Regions from separate parts of the Homo sapiens genome. Here regions 1 and 3 are each linked to region 2. Evidence: promoter capture Hi-C in human tissues and cell types (Jung and others, 2019). All regions are on one chromosome and are shown on one strand. The core of a region is centred on a gene start or on the middle of the fragment in contact, and the rest is flanking DNA. Distances in the headings are between cores, read along the strand shown. Region 1 has its middle 43 kb from the start of TULP4. Region 2 holds the start of TULP4 (TUB like protein 4). Region 3 overlaps TULP4 (TUB like protein 4).

Region 1 (3,569 bases), core at 944-3,443, 43 kb after region 2:
CACAACTTGAGGAAGCTGGACCTATTTTGGTTAGGCACCCACTTAACTTGGCCTTTAAATGCTTTCTTCATTACCACATGAGAAGCAACAATTGAAAATGAAACAAAACTCAACAGAGCAGTGACTAACATAAAACTGCTTATATTAAATAAACTCAGTACAGCATCTTTTTTTTTTTTTTTTTTTTGAGACAGAGTCTCACTTTGTCACCCAGGCTGGAGTACAGTGGCGCGATCTCGGCTAACTGCAACCTCCACCTCCTGGGTTCAAGCCATTCTCCTGCCTCAGCCTCCCATGTATCTGGGATTATAGGCACCTGCCACCATGCCTGGGTAATTTTTGTATTTTTAATAGAGACAGGGTTTCACCATGTTGGCCAGGCTGGTCTTGACCTCCTGACCTCAGGTGATCAACCTGCCTCAGCCTCCCAAAGTGCTGGGATTACAGGCATGGGCCACTGTGCCCGGCCCTACAGCATCTATTCACACTAAGCTGCTTTATAAACTCTGAGGCAAAAATGAAGGCAGCCTTGAAAGTTGCCACATTTAAGCACAAGGAAGCCTGGAGTAAATCACCTCTAATTCAGGAGCAATTTCATCTGTGAAGGAAAAACTTCAGGAAGAAATTTTGAAAGCTTGAGAAAAGCTTAAAAGGAGGCAAGCATCACATCAACAGATGATGTGTGTTAATTTTAGCTGCAATAGTCTAAAGTGCAGTGTCAAACCAGGAAAGCAGCCAAGCAACACTCAGGCCAGAGACGCTAACTGAGTGCCCATCACCGGCCCCGGTACCAGAGACACTTAGTGAGTGCCCACCACAGGCCGAACAGGCCGGGTGCTGACAATGCAAAACTCATCGAAGTCCAGTCCCTAGCCCCGAGAAGCACCCTACACAGTGAGAGAAGATGGGCAAAATAAACCAACTTCAATACTACAAGGTAAATCCTGTAATCAAGAGCCAAAAAAGTGCTGTGGAGCAGAGTTGAGAGAATCTTGCTGGAATGACCGGTCCCTGGCAGGATAAAGCCAAGGTAGGGTCTTCAGATGATGATGCAAGAGCAAAACAAAGAAAGAGAGCTCCAAGTTGGACCAAGTAAGGACAATTTACTGACAAAAATATCTCAATAATGAAGACTTTATAATAATCCAAGAGAAAATTAAGCCAGAGTTCTTAAGATAAATAGAAGGCTATTAAAGATATATAGAAGATCTAATTATACTGCCTGGATAGGAAAGGGTCTTACTGCTACAGAGTAGAATTAACGTATATTTAATAGATATGAATGCTGTACATTTGACACTTACTATTTAACTTTAAAACAATTAGCCTTTTCAAAAACTCAGTGTTTTTGTTTTTTCCTAGATCTAGAAGCAATAAAATGGGCTTAAGGAACACGGAATAAAGGGAGCAACCCTGTGAAGACCACAAAGGCAGAACAGTGACAGCAGCTCAGCAGCAAGACTGCCGGGCACCGGGCCTGGCTCTCCCACCACCTGACTGGGTAACTTTTCAAACACCTTCATTTCCCAAGAAGTAGGAATGTTGGGAAGACTAAATAAACATATGTCAAGTACTTAATTACCTGCCCACATAGTAAAGTGCTAAATAAATGTTGGACATTGCTTTTGCAATTTCATTTATATTCTACCCATTAAGCAATGTTTAAAATCTGGAATAAAATAGATTATTAAAGAAATATGCAGAGACAATTATCATTGACCCTGATTCCATCTGGAAATCAGGGATGAAGAATCACGGAGAAAAAAAGGTTAAAATTATCTCTGATCAAAATTAAAGTCTATCAAAATCTCAAATGGCAACGAATTCTTGCTGAATGGCCTTGTATGTGAATGCTAATGATTTCTCCATTACTAAGGAAGGGCCCACTTTGCATCTTACTCCATGTTCTCAGTCTCCCAGTGAGACAGGAAAATCCTTTTTTTTTTTTTTTTTTTTACAAATGCTGAAACTAAAGTTCAAAGAGTTTAAGTAAGGTTATGAAAAGTCACTAGGCTATTAGTGACATAGCTTAGTTCTGATATCTGGCTCCAAGACCCATACTTTTTTCCACCAAACTATGGTGCTAAAATTAACAACAGTAATTTCCACTCCACAACACTGTTACTTTGGAATAGGAAGAAAAAGTTGTGTAATTATCTGGTGAGAACAAAACAATGTATGAACCTAGGCCAACTCTATTCTCATATTCTCAGACTCGAGAATTTCTAGAAAAAAATAATAAATGGCAAACCCAAATTTAATTTTAAAATGACAAGAGCCACAAATTGGAAAGACCCTTCACAATGCTCTGGTCACTAAGCTTGGGTGTGGACATGGGTGACAAGCACTCTCCAATTCTAGTGCAGCTTTCCAAAAAGCAATTTGGCAATATGCAGAAAGTGACTAAAGCCAACAGTGCTAAAGGCTAAAGGGAGGATTAAGCCAAAGATGCTCACCAAAAGTGCTATTCAGTATCATTCTAGAAATTACAAGCAAAATATTACAACAGGAAAAAAAGTCATATAAAAATAGAAAAAAGTCATATAAAAATAGAGCCAAAAATCACCCTGATTTGTAAGTAATATAATTTTCCATCTGGAAAACCCAACAGAATCAAATGAAATCAGAACAATTAAGAGTTCAGTAAAATAGGAAAATGTAATTGCTATGATCCAAATGTTGGTGTCCCCCCAAAATTCCTATGTTGGAACCTAATACCAAATGTAATAGCATTACGAGGTGGGGCCTTTGGGAAGTGATTAAGCAAGCCCTCACCAGACAACAAGTCCACTGGTGCCTTGCTCTTGGACTTCTCAGCTCCCAGGATTGTGAGCAACACATTTCTACTGTTTATAAATTACCCAGTCTAAGGTATTTTGTTATAGCAGCCAAACAGACTAAGACAATAAATAGTACACAAAAATAAATTCAGGATGATGAATGAGCCATCTGTTTACCTTATCCCTCTCCCCAAAGTCCCATTAAAATGATCAAACAAGGCCGGGTGCAGTGGCTCACACCTGTAATTCCAGCACTCTGGGAGGCAGAAGTGGCCGGATCACCTGGGGTTGGGAGTTCAAGACCAGCCTGACCAACATGGAGAAACTCCGTCTCCACTAAAAATACAAAAAAAATTAGCCAAGTGTGGTGGTGCATGCCTGTAATCCCAGCTACTCGGGAGGCTGGGGCAGAAGAATCGCTTGAACCCAGGAGGCAGAGGTTGTGGTGAGCCAGGATCGCACCACTGCAATCCAGCCTGGGCAACAAGAGCAAAAGTACGTCTCAAAAAAAAAAAAAAAAAGAAAAAAGAAAAAGAAAAGAAAAGAAAAGAAAAGATCAAACAAATGTAAAAGAACAAAAAAAAATTTTAAAAACCTGTGGAAAACAGAGTGAGGTACCACTGATAAACCCTTCTCAATTTCTAGAAGACATGGAGGAGAAGGGATTCGACTGATAGAAAAGCACCAAGAGCCTTAATTCAGCCAGGCAAATGCAAGCACACCACCCTTGACTACAGGGCTTTAGGCAATGTCTGGCCAACAAACATGTCTATACCAACCCACGGAGGA
Region 2 (3,431 bases), core at 925-3,424:
CCATGTAGACTTGGAGCACGAAAAGTTGGTTAGGATCATCTAATTTAACCCCCCACCCTGGTTAGAAAGCGCCCTGGCCTCCCTACTGCTGGGCGTCTTCCCACTGCCCGGACCCTCTAAGAGAGACAGTGCAGGGAGAGGACAGCAGGGGTGCCAGGGACAACTGACCCACCTGGGGAGGCGCAGCCTACTGTGAACTATGTCCATCTTAGCATCTTTTCTGCCAGAGAATAAGAGACAGAACTCACAGCATGGGAAGTCTCACTAGGCAGCAAGTCTATGAAACTGAAATGAAGGAAGTTTCAAGTCCACAAGGGGCTCAAAAACACCACTGGAAGTGACCAAAAAGTGAAACAAAACCACAGCTCACCTCGCTATTGTGGCCCCGGAGGTTGAAATTTATCCTCTGTGGAGTACTCCTGTCCCTGCGACAGTGACTAGAGGTGAAAGTCACCCCAACCACTCCTCGCCCGTTGCCCGTGGCCAGCCAGCCTTCCTCATAGTAGCGTCTCCTGCACACAGGCTTCTCCTTCTCACTCTTGGGGACACGCCCCTTCCAGGACAGGCACAGGATGTTGGAATCGCTGCAAAGCACAGGCCCATGTTCCACTGCTGCATACATACTTTCTTCAATGAACTGTTTTACTTAAAAAGTAATGTTAATGCTGTGAAATTTAAACCAATTTCTTTCATTGGTATATGTGTTTTTGTGGTTGGCTTGCGTTGCTTTTTTCCCCCTTTAATTAAGACTGACCTGAATCTAATTAGAAGGTCAGTATTTTATAAAGATCCACCGAATGCATAGTGAAAAAATTCCTCTATAAAAGATGATGGCAGTCTTCTAAGAAAAGGTAATGCTTAAAAAAACATGGGGTCCATTTGTATTTTCAAGTTCTCAGAGGAAGAACGTGCTGATCCTTTGGAGAAAGAGCATCGTTAATTAAGTGGTGATCAAGAAACGGTTTTCTTCTTTTTACTCCACTTGGTTATTCTCATTCAGCCTGAGATTCCAGTTTAGTGTAATATGATTCCAGAGACAAAGGGTTGCAAATACATAGATTTCAAGTAACTTAAGGCTTTAAGAATCCCTCTAGCTCGAATTTTTCTCTTCAAAAGTTCGGATGCAGAGACAGAATACACAGGATCATCTTCCTTCTGAAGCCACCCTCTAGCATGTTTCCTGAACTAGACAAATTTCTGCTGCTAAAGCTGAAAAAGATTGCATAAAGGGAAAAAAAGGCACACAAACCGTGCAAAACAGACCAGAGTTTGTGCAGACAAGAGTCCAAATTTTAGGAAGAAAAACAGACTCTCTCCTTGTTGTTTCAGAACCAGAAACTTTCCACCTCAAAGCTTGGCCCTGTGTCCCCGGGGAACGCAGGGCTCCATCGGACTGCTCCTCCACCAGCCGGCGCACCCCTCAGTGCCATAGAGGCTAGAAAGAAGGCCCCTTCACTCAAGAGGCAGAATGTTCCAGCGCTCTTACAGTGGTCCCAGTGTTTGCCCTGGGTGAGTCTTAAATCCTCTTGCTGACAAAACAGAGCCACGTGGCAAGATTTTGTTTCTTTTGCTCGTCTCCCTTCTCGCTCCCCCAGTTAGCACTCCCCTTTTCTGCTCCTAAAGATCTTTTTCCATCTTGATGAAAAAAGCTAATCTTAGAATTAAGTCCATCAGGTAATCTTCTCATACGCAAGTCTTCTTGGACTTGACAGGGAAGTTAATCCCTTAAAACAAAAGCAGAAGCCAGAGTCAGATTCCCCCAGCTGTCTCCCTAGAGAGTGATAGTGTTTTGCTGATGGGTGCTTTCCTGTTCACATTCAGAGACTGTCTCCAAACACCACACCACTAGTCCAACAAAAAGAAAGCTTTGCTTGGATTTTCCTTGATATTTATTTAATAATTATTGGTTTCAATTGCTATTTTACAATATTATCCTATAGATGCAGGAAAAAAGGGGGGGAATAATAAATTAAAATTTCTCAAATACAGTTAATTAAGATAGGCAAAGGAATCAGTTCATTATTCAAACTTGTCCCATCATACTTGAACTTGCTTTCCTCTAGCCATAACCACAGTAGGAGTTACTTTTCAGTCTAGAATTTTAATCCGTCCAAATCACCAAACCCACTGAAAAATAAAGTGCAACAAACACTGTGTGAGCCGCTGCAATGTTTGAAATCACACTTCTTTCTCAGTCACCTTCTCACTTAGTTCCTTCTTTAAACTGGAGAATATTTTTGTGGTTTAATCTGCGCAAATTTTTTTTTCTTCTTTTTGCAGACTTTCTTTACCCGTGCAGACCATATGGAAAACTGGCCATTAGTGATGTATTTTTCTCCCCGGGCTCCTGAGCCCACTGGTGTCAAGTTGCTCCATCTGATTCTTAAATTAATTTTCATCAGTTGTAAAACTCTCAAGTGTGCACAAGAATGAGCCTGTCTTCCCGTGTGAATGTGTAAGTACAGAAAGAAGGTTTTAAATGCACATAGACACACACTCTTCAACTGCCATACGAAGCGTCTGCTTCCCCAGTCATTTCAGGAACCATCAGATTATTCACGGCTGGGAGGCCCTGGAGTCTTACAAATCTGTTTAAAAAAAAAAAAAGATATAAAATTTAAAAACTTTAAAACACTGGAAAATAAAGGTTTTAAGAATAATTGCTGAAACTGAAATGAGAGACCCATCTTTACACTTACATCAAATGGAGCTACTGACTGCACTGAATGGTAAAATCCAATAGTGAAAGGATACACCTCACCAGACTCAAGACAACACACAACAAATGAGAGTTCTGCCTGCCACTGATCGTTGTATTCAATTTGTCAGCAGCTGGGCACATCTGAATGAAATCATAACTGCCATTCTTCCACACTGAACTGTACTTTCTAAGAGACTGAACTCCGAATGTGAGACTCTACCCCTCCAGAGACCATGGTCGCTGTTTAAGCAGGCATCCTCAAAAAGGAGACTGAAATGACTCAGGCAAGTTATCTGGATTGATTTTTTCACGATTAATAAAAGATATTCCCTCAAGACACAAAGCAGTAAGGGCCTTTAAAACTCATTCGTCCCTGATGGCTGGCAGGTCTCGGAGCAAAGCGCAGCTGTTTTCTAAGCTTTTATGTGGTCTACCAGCAATAAAGTTCTAGAGAATCTGTCTCTAGCAAATCCATTCCATCTTCTTCCTACTGCCTGAAGTCCAGGCTGCATCACATCCTCTACAAACACGAGAACACTCTGTCCCTAACTTACTCATCCTCCCTGCCCTCCCGCCCCGCCAGTCCTTCCAGAAAGCAGAGTGGACTTTCTCAAATTCAGCAGACTCTCTCAGTCTCCTGGGGCAGCTGAAGCGGCCCAGCCCCATCCCACAGGAACTGGACACTGAAAGGGAAGGGAAGGGCCCAGGTGTTCGCATTTCTAATAAGCTC
Region 3 (3,578 bases), core at 117-2,616, 52 kb before region 2:
TGCGAGGCGGAGCTTGCAGTGAGCTGAGATCGCACCACTGCACTCCAGCCTGGGCAACAGAGCAAGACTCTGTCTCAAAAACAAAAAAAAAAGAAAAAAGAAAAAAGAAAAAAAGAAAAAAAAAACTTCCAAAGAGATACACAAGAAAAATAACCAGAAAAAAAAAAATTTTTAGAAACAAAATCAGGCAGTAGTTATGAAAACAAAAACCTATTCAAAATCCTGAAAATGAAATATATGGTCAGTAGATGGGGAGAAACAACACCAAGCACAGTAAACGAGAGAATTAGTAAATTAAATTCACTCTGTGTATAGAATAGAGATAAAACACTTCTCTCTATGAGAAGTGAAGTAACATAACAGGTAGAGTGAAAAGAAACACATCTAGTAGGATTTCCAGAAATAAAGCTAGAAGGAGTGGTGGGGAGGCAATACTAGAACTAACGCTAAAAATGTGCCATAATTGAAGACTTGAATCTCAATTCTGAAAGCTCGCAATGAGTGCCAAGCAGAGACTGGATAAAAACAAATCTAGGGGCTGGGCGCGGTGGCTCACGCCTGTAATCCCAGCACTTTGGGAGGCCGAGGCAGGTGGATCACAAGGTCAGGAGATCGAGACCATCCTGACTAACATGGTGAAACCCCATCTCTACTAAAAATACAAAAAATTAGCCAGGCGTGGTGGCGGGCGCCTGTAGTCCCACAACTCGGAAGGCTGAGTCAGGAGAATGGCGTCAACCTGGGAGGCAGAGCTTGCAGTGAGCCAAGATCACGCCACTGCACTCCAGCCTGGGTGACAGAATGAGACTCCGTCTTAAAAAACAAACAAACAAACAAAAAACAAATCTAGGTAGATTGCTGTGAGGCTGCAAAACATTAAGGATAAAGAGAAAACCTTGAAAACTAGCAGACTGAAAAAACAGTTAAAAGGGAATGATAATTAGACTGGCAGCAGACTTCTTAACAGTAACAATGAATAACAGAAGGCAATAACATCATATTTTCAAAGTTCTAAGACAAAACCAGCTAACCCAGAATTCCAAACCCAGGAAGAGTAAAGATGAAACAAAAGATATTTCTGAAATACAAAGACTAGGTTTACCTTCTATAGATAGTTACTCTAAGAACTACTAGAAAATACATGCTTCAATAAAAATAATAAAAACCCAAAGGGAAAGAAGGTGATACAGTAAGCTAAGACAGAATAAAGGACTTGTTTTAGGTTTCTTAATTCATGGCTGAGACCAAAGGAACCTTGGCATGTTGACTCCCAAGTTAGTACTCTTTCCTCTAAACTAACTCTCTGCATCTTCATCTTCATTTTCACACTTCCATATTTTAACTTCTAGTTAGATATAAAACTACACTTGACAGTTCCTAAATATTATACAATATTTTTCATAGCATTCAAATTATTTTTTTAAATTTAAAAACTTCCTTGAAGTGTGATTAGAATAAGGAAGAGATCCAAGAGAAGTCATTTTATTGACTGTACCTTTCTTTGGTCAAATTACCTGGCTCTCAGTGATACGTTCTATTTCCTCCATATTTAACACAAAATTGTGGGTTTTTTTAATTTATTTTGAAAGGTAAAGTGTTGATAAATAATTCATAATTGTCTTTGGTTTACATCTAAATAAAGAGAAATTCTGTGCATCTCTAAACAAAACTAAATTTTTCTTTTCATATGACATTATTTCACTATTTTAATATGTATTTATGAAAGTAAGATTTTGCAAATGGCAACTGTATGCATACACTTAATTAAAAGAAAAAAAAAACACGCGGCCTTGCGCGGTGGCTCACGCCTGTAATCCCAGCACTTTGGGAGGCCGGGGGGGTGGATCACCTGAGGTCAGGAGTTCAGGACCAGCCTGGCCAACAGGGCAAAACCCCATTTCTACTAAAAATACAAAAAAAATAGCCCGGCGTAGTGATGCGTGCCTGTAGTCCCAGCTACTCAGGAGGCTAAGGCAGGAGAATCACTTGAACCCAGGAGGCAGAGGTTGCAGTGAGCCAAGATCGTGCCACTGCACTCCAGCCTGGGCGACACAGTGAGACTCCGCCTCAAAAGAAAACAAACAAAAACAAAAAAAATGTGACTATCATACCTTCAACTTACATGGAAATAGGCAGCAAAATGACAGTTGAAAAAAATCTAGTTGGTACTCTAAGTGAATAAAAAAATAGATGCCTTAACCCTCAAAGATGTAACAGTGATTTATACACAAATGTTAGTTCCCTTGCTGCGATCTGTGATATGTTAACACATTCCCCAATAAAGTCATCTCAACCTCCACATCTGGATCCCAGAGCAATTATCTGCCTATTTTTAAGCATTGTAAATTATTGTAACACTGTACACACAGCCAGCAAGAGAAGGTTCTATAGTTTTTTATGTGATAGAACAGGGAATAAAGGAAGTATTAGCTCTAAACAGTGAATAGCTGGACAATACTCCCTGGCCCTAATACAAAGACTGTGACTTTTTTTTTTTTTTTTTTTTTTGAGATGGAGTCTCGCTCTGTCCCCCCAGGCTAGAGTGCAGACGCGCAATCTTGGCTCACTGCAAACTCCGCCTCCCGGGTTCAAGCGCTTCTCCTGCCTTAGCCTCCCGAGTAGCTGGGATTACAGGCACCTGCCACTGCACCCGGCTAATTTTTGTATTTTTTTAGTAGAGATGGGGTTTCACCAACTTGGCCAGGCTAGTCTCGAACTCCTGACCTCCTGACCTCCCAAAGTGCTGGGATTAAGGGCGTGAGCCACCGCACCCAGCCAAGACTGTGACTTTGCATGGAGTTTCAAGTCAGATTCACTAAACAACACTCTGTGTGCATGGGTTAAGTACAGATGGACACAATCTACAACCCCAGACACCAAAGACCTCAGAGAAGTATAAATATAATTATGAAAATCCCTCTGGCCGGGCACCATGGCTCACATCTGTAACCTCAACACTTTGGGAGTCCAATGCAGGAAGATCACTTGAGGCCAGGAGTTCCAGACCAGCCTGGACAATACAGCAAGACCCTGTCTCTATAAAAAATACCAAAATTAGCTGGGCATGGGAGCACACACCTGTAGTGCCGGCTACTTGAGAAGCTGAGGCGGGAGCATTGCTTGAGCCCAGGAGGTCAAGCTTACAGTGAACTATGACTGCATCACTGCACTCCAGCCTGGGCAACAGAGAGAGACCTCATCTGTTAAGAAAAAAAAAAAATCCTTCAATGTTGGCTAGTCAAACTTGGATGAACAAACAACAAGCGCAGTCTGTTATGCTGTCAGTAACTACAACAGTATCAGACTTCACTGGAAGAAGTTTGGTGTTTTCCATAAAGGATCATTTTGCAGGATATATTGGAAGATAGTCTGTGGTCAGAGTCAGTACAAATAACCCAGAGTGTGGGTTCATATCCCTGGGCAAGAGCTGATGCTACTCAGCAGTGTATTTTTAGACACAGGACAGTTATGCAACAGAGCTAGTTCAATGATGCTATGGGTACTTCTGTGTAGAATCCAATAAAAGTAATCGCAAAACAGTCTTTCAACTACTAGAAACATTTCTGAGGTTGAGGAGT

Evidence for each region. The method cuts DNA at HindIII sites, captures the fragments that hold promoters and counts their contacts. A contact is called where the count stands out against the background at its distance.
Region 1: a fragment that was not itself captured here is called in contact with the fragment with the promoter of TULP4 in region 2 in 2 of the 25 tissues and cell types used here (dorsolateral prefrontal cortex and hippocampus).
Region 3: a fragment that was not itself captured here is called in contact with the fragment with the promoter of TULP4 in region 2 in 3 of the 25 tissues and cell types used here (H1 embryonic stem cells, dorsolateral prefrontal cortex and neural progenitor cells).

The regions. Positions count from the first base shown.
Region 1 is chr6:158,267,768-158,271,336 of GRCh38, reverse strand. It overlaps a transcript of TULP4 not described here. Among named protein-coding and RNA genes, the nearest start is that of TULP4, 43 kb to the left of the region's middle. The HindIII fragment of the contact is 3,105 bases long and covers 641-3,569 here.
Region 2 is chr6:158,311,208-158,314,638 of GRCh38, reverse strand. It overlaps TULP4 (TUB like protein 4), which reads right to left and starts at 2,174. Exons shown (of 14, transcript NM_020245.5): 1 at 371-2,174. The coding sequence starts at 622. RefSeq lists an enhancer at 471-550. The HindIII fragment of the contact is 2,154 bases long and covers 1,610-3,431 here.
Region 3 is chr6:158,361,993-158,365,570 of GRCh38, reverse strand. The region is part of intron 1 of TULP4 (TUB like protein 4); the gene reads right to left. Among named protein-coding and RNA genes, the nearest start is that of SNORA116, 41 kb to the right of the region's middle. The HindIII fragment of the contact is 4,819 bases long and covers 1-3,578 here.